Linked DNA regions of Homo sapiens: region 2 is linked to region 1. The links are contacts of gene promoters, found by promoter capture Hi-C in blood cells and fetal thymus (Javierre and others, 2016). All regions are on one chromosome and are shown on one strand. The core of a region is centred on a gene start or on the middle of the fragment in contact, and the rest is flanking DNA. Distances in the headings are between cores, read along the strand shown.

Region 1 (2,792 bases), core at 187-2,686:
TGCTCTGTCGCCCAGGCTAGAGTGCAGTGGCACAATCTCGGCTCACTGCAACCTACGCCTCCCGGGTTCAAGTGATTCTTCTGCCTTAGCCTCCTGAGTAGCTGGCATTACAGGCATGGGATTACAGGCATGCGCCACCACACCCGGCTAATTTTTTTTTTTTTTTTTTGAGACGGAGTCTCGCTCTGTCGCACAGGCTGGAGTGCAGGGGCGCGATCTCCGCTCACAGCAAGCTCCGCCTCCCGGGTTCACGCCATTCTCCTGCCTCAGTCTCTCGAGTAGCTGGGACTACAGGCGCCCACCACCACACCCGGCTAATTTTTTGTATTTTTAGTAGAGACGGGGTTTCACCGTCTTAGCCAGGATGGTCTCGATCTCCTTACCTCGTGATCTGCCCGCCTCCCAAAGTGCTGGGATTACAGGCGTGAGCCACTGCGCCCGGCCCACACGGGGCTAATTTTTGTATTTTTAGTAGAGGCGAGGTTTCACTCTGTTGGCTAGGATGGTCTCCAACCCCTGGCCTCAAGCCAACCTCCTGCCTCTGCCTCCCAAAGTGCTGAGATTACAGGTGTGAGCCACCGAGCCTGGTCTGACTTGGGGTTGAGTCTTAAGGATGGGAAGGAGCTGGGCGCGGTGGCTCACGCCTGTAATACTAGCACTTTGGGAGGTCGAGGCAGGAGGATCGCTTGAGTCCAGGAGACAGAGACCAGCCTGGCCAACATCGTGAGATCCCATCTCTACAAAAAATAGTTAGCTGGGTGTGGTGGTGCACACCTGTAGTCCCAGCTACTTGGGAGGCTGAAGCAGGAGGATCGCTTGAGGCCAGCAGGTTGAGGCTGCAGTGAGCTATGACTGCACTACTGCACTCCAGCCTGGGGGACAGAGCAAGACCATGTCCCTTTTTTTAAAAAGGTGGGTTGGAAGAAGATCAACAGGGGGGCATAAGAGGAGAAAGGTGCTACCTCCCTGCCCAGGGGCAGCCAAGGAGGATCCGCCTCGGCCTTGCTCGCAGCCTCCTCTCACCTCCTTTCCTCCACTTCACCCCAGCCCCGGCGCCCCCATCGCAGCTCTCTCGCCTCAGCCTCCCTACCTGGGGTCCCCCCTTAGGGCTCTCTCCTCCGCCTCCTCCATCAGTCTGTGGGGTCCCTCCTCACCATCCTCCCTCCCTGTGAGGGTCTGTCTTCAGACCTTTCTTAGTATTTTGGATGTCTCTCTCAGCCTTCAGATCTTTTCCCGCAGGCCCAGCCTGCAGTCCGCCCGTTTCCCCCAGCCCGCTCCTTCGCTCTGCGGGGTCTCCTCCCTCAGTCCGCGGTATCCCCCACTCACCTCGCAGCCACTGTCTCTCCAGAGCTCGTTCGCGCTGGGCGCGGGGGCGGGGCGCGCACACCGGGCGGCGGCGGCGCGGGGCCGCGCGCGCAGCGTGCGCGGTGACGTCAGTGCGCTGGCGGCGGCGGCGGCGGCGGCGGCGGCGGCTGGGCTGTTTGTTCTGGTCTCCCGCAGCCGAGGAGCCGAAGCAGTGGCGGCGGCAGCGGCTGCGGCGGCTGCCGGCGGTGCCCGCGGGCGAGCGCGGCCTGTGAGCTCGGCAGAGCGGCGGGCGGGCCCCGGCGCCGCGCAGGCAGCTCGGGGAGGGGGCGGCGGCAGCGGGCGGACGGCCGGCGGGGGCGGCGTGCGGCCTAGCGTCTCAGGTGAGGACTGGTGCCCTTTGGGGCGGCGGACGACACTGGGCGGCTGGCGGAGGCTCGCGGCGCGGTCCGCGTAACCTGCATTGCGTAATGGGGCCGGGGCGCCGCCACCTACGCCATCCGCGCGGCGCGGGGGCGGGGAGGCCGGGGCTACGCGGGCTCGGGCCTGCGGGCCTCCCGCGCCGTTCGTTCCGGGCCGGGGCGGCCTGCGCCGTTGGTGTCGGGGCGGCGGGGTCGCTCGCGGCTGTCCTGCCTTTGGTGCCGTCGGACCCGGGCTTGGGCTGGCCGGCGGGGCGCGGGTGGGGGGCGCGGGCGCCGCGGCGGGGCCGGCGGTCGGGGGCGGGCGGGGGGCGGGCCGAGGCGCCCGGCACTTCCTGCCGCCGCCATTTTGTTAAGTGAGGAGGAGGAGGAGGAGGAGGAAGCGGCCGCCGCGGGGTCCGCGGCGCGCCCGGCCCGGGTAAGTCCCGGCCTGGCGCGGGGGCCGCGAGCGCAGCTGTCCCGGTCCGCGGTCCTCTAGGCGGGCTCGGCCGCGGCGCTCACGTGGGCCGGGGCCGGCGCGCTCTCCTTCTGGCACCCAGGTCGTTTTGCCTGGGCCGGGGCAGCGCGCCCCCACCCCCATCTCTTCACCTTCCCGGCGGTCCCCGGAGTGCTGCGGAGAAAGGGGCAGGTCCCCTGCGGAGGGAGGTGGCTGCGGCTGCACGCCGGTCTGAGGCCAGGCCTCAGGGCGGGAGCGGTGCCCTGGAGGCGAGCTTGGCCCGCTTGACGCACCCACTCTCAGCCTGGCAGCCCCTTGCTGGGCGCTTTGTTTTGCTCGGTCCGTGCTCGCCGGCGTCCTTGCAACGGCCTATTTTATTTGCAGTGTTGTGTGGTGGTGGTGATTGTGGTGATTTGGGGTGGGGATGTGGGGGAGTTGTGATTCAGCGAAATAAAATGATCCCCCTCCTCCCAAACGGAAATAGCATGGCTTCACTCGGCTGAGATGCCCCCAAGGCTTGGGTTTGCTTGAAGATGGGAAACCCCACTCTGTTGTAGTGGACGGTGTAAATACTTTAGTTCAGGCCGGTGCATGAGTCATGTGCTTCTCCTGGGTGGCTGACCTCCCTTTTACTC
Region 2 (2,717 bases), core at 108-2,607, 180 kb after region 1:
AAGGATGCTCTTTGGGATTAAGCCCCAGTTGCCCACAGCAGCAACCTACTCTTCCTCACTCCTACTAGAGCTTTCTGGAATGATCTTGCGAATAAATTCCTTGCACTTGAATCATTGGCCCAAGAGAAGTCCATCTTAGCTTTATGCATGAGTAGATTCTTGGGAATAAAAAATAAAATATCTACTGGGGCTTAAGCAAGTTTGGGTATTCTTCTTCCCAAGTGCTGTACAAATGAGGAGAAAGTCCTTCTCCCTACCCATTTTGTCCACTCTATCATGCAACCTTGGCTTCATGTCAACAGAATATTGAAGAAGAGTGTCCCACAGCGGGAACCCACTTTCGTACCTGGTGGAGCTGACTTATTTGTAAGCACATGTGAGACTCACCCACACTGGGAGCTCCCTGGAATGATTGCAGAAAGGATGTTAGGTTGAGGACTAGGAAGCCTGCACTGGTGATGGAGGAAAATTAACTAATGAGATTCAAGGATTCATATGTATGTGATTTCATTGGCATGCTGAAGTTGGGAAGGGTTGGGGACTTTGGAATTGACATCCTAGTTGGTTTTTTGACTGAAAGGACAATGATAAAACAGCTGAGTGTCTGCTTTTTGCCTCCAGATCTGCACTGATCTTCCTCAACTCTTCTCTGTGCTCTGGGAGAATGACCCAGGTAGATGGCATCAATGGGTTTCCTTACTCTCTGGCTTCCACTTGGGTTTGGCCAATGAGAGACACAGGTGAGGGATTAGAGGGTGGAATGTATTTGTCTCCCTGGCTCCCTGCCTGCAGGGTACCTGCAGTGCTCTCCCTCCAGCTACCTACCCTCTGTGGGTCTGGGTTATTGTTTCCTCTGCTTGGCCCTTTTGGCATAGAAGCGATAAAGGCTCTCCACCATTGTGAGCCCCAAGGTATAGTAACATTCCTTGCCTACATTCTGCGCATGCCTCATCTGTCTAGAATGTCAATCATTTATTTATTATCTATCTATGTCTATCATCTATCGTTTATCTTTCATCCGTCTATATCTATCTTATGCTTCTCTGTCCTCTGTTGTCTATTTATATCTATGAATCTTTCTATTTTTCTATCATCTATCATTTATATATCTTTCTCTCCATCCATCTACCAATCTTTCTTCTTCTTTTTTTTTTGAGACGGAGTTTTGCTCTATTTCCCAGGCTGGAGTGGAGTGGCGAGATCTCGGCTCACTGCAAACTCTGCCTCCCGGGTTCATGCCATTCTCCTGCCTCAGCCTCCCAAGTGGCTGGGACTACAGGCGTCCACCACCGCGCCTGGCTAATTTTTTGTATTTTTAGTAGAGATGGGGTTTCACCATGTTAGCCAGGATGGTCTCGATCTCCTGACCTCGTGATCCGCCCGCCTTGGCCTCCCAAAGTGCTGGGATTACAGGCGTGAGCCACTGTGCCCGGCCTCTTCTCTTTTTTTTTTTTTTTTTTTTTGAGATGGAGTTTCACTCTTGTTGCCCAGGCTGGAATGCAATGGCGTGATCTTGGCTCACTGCAACCTCCGCTTCCTGGGTTCAAGCAATTCTCCTGCCTTAACCTCCTGAGTAGCTGGGATTACAGGCATGCACCACTACGCCTGGCTAATTTTTGTATTTTTAGTAGAGATGGGGTTTCTTCATGTTGGTCAGCCTGGTCTCGAACTCCCGACCTCAGGTGATCTGCCTGCCTTAGCCTCCCAAAGTGCTGGGATTACAGGCATGAGCCACTGAGCCTGGCCTAATTTTTGTATTTTTAAGTAGAGACAGGGTCACCATGTTGGCAGGCTGGTCTTGAACTACTGACCTCGTGATCCACCCTCCTTGGCCTGCCAATGTGCCGGGATTACAGGCATAAGCCACTGCACCCAGCCTTATCTGAGCCTTTCAAAGCCTCTATAGACAGCTCCTTCCCTAGCTTTTGGTTTAGTCTATTTGTCTCAACTGTCACTCACTGCCTCAGGCATCCATGAAGCTAAAATACCTTCCTGTAGCTGTTGTCAACAAAGGACCCCCAGAGTGAAGGCTTTTTGCATGGTTTATCTCAGAGCCAGGTCAAATACAGAGAGCTTTGCCAGTGGGATCTTGCAGGGAACCATTAGCTTGGTAAATAATGACAATTCTTGGCCGGGTGTGGTGGCTCACACCTGTAATCCCAGCACTTCGGGAGGCCGAGGTGGGCAGATCATTTGAGGTCGGGAGTTTGAGACCAGCTTGGCCAACATGGTAAAACGCTGTCTCTACTAAAAATACAAAAATTAGCCAGGCGTGGTGGTGCATGCCTGTAATTCCAGCTACTTGGGAGGCTGAGGCAGGAGAATTGCTTGAACCTGGGAGGCGGAGGTTGCAGTGAGCTGAGATTGCACCACCGCACTCCAGCCTGGGCGACAGAGAGAGAGAGACTCCATCTCAATAAATAAATAAATAAATAAATAAAATTTAAAAAATAATGACAATTCTTTGGGAATGAGGCTTGAAAGTGCTCTAGTTCTGTTTTGCTCTCTCTGGTGGATGCCAGGCTGCACCAGAGTTTGGGCTGGTATTTTTCAAGACGACCACGGAGCTGGAGAGTGGGGGAGAAGACCAGAGATGTTAAAATGCCGAGTATGCTGTTCTCACTGATATTCAGTAATTTTCTGAATACATTTTCTCTGAGTTGCTGCAAGACTTTAGTTAATTTCTAGAATTCCCAAAAATTTAGTCTAACAATTTT

What was found. Contacts are between HindIII fragments. The CHiCAGO score rates a contact against its expected background, and 5 or more counts as called.
Region 2: a fragment that was not itself captured here is called in contact with the fragment with the promoter of BRD4 in region 1 in 1 of 17 cell types (M2 macrophages); the score reaches 5.2 in M2 macrophages.

The regions. Positions count from the first base shown.
Region 1 is chr19:15,331,183-15,333,974 of GRCh38, reverse strand. BRD4 (bromodomain containing 4) reads left to right here and starts at 1,436. Exons shown (of 20, transcript NM_001379291.1): 1 at 1,436-1,685. LOC124904643 (a long non-coding RNA gene) reads right to left here and starts at 1,362. Exons shown (of 4, transcript XR_007067146.1): 1 at 1,327-1,362. RefSeq lists an enhancer at 554-1,170 and silencers at 1,127-1,196, 1,337-1,436, 1,667-1,896, 2,097-2,196, 2,227-2,376 and 1 more. The HindIII fragment of the contact is 24,183 bases long and covers 1-2,792 here.
Region 2 is chr19:15,154,761-15,157,477 of GRCh38, reverse strand. No RefSeq gene overlaps it. Among named protein-coding and RNA genes, the nearest start is that of MIR6795, 23 kb to the left of the region's middle. The HindIII fragment of the contact is 3,609 bases long and covers 1-2,717 here.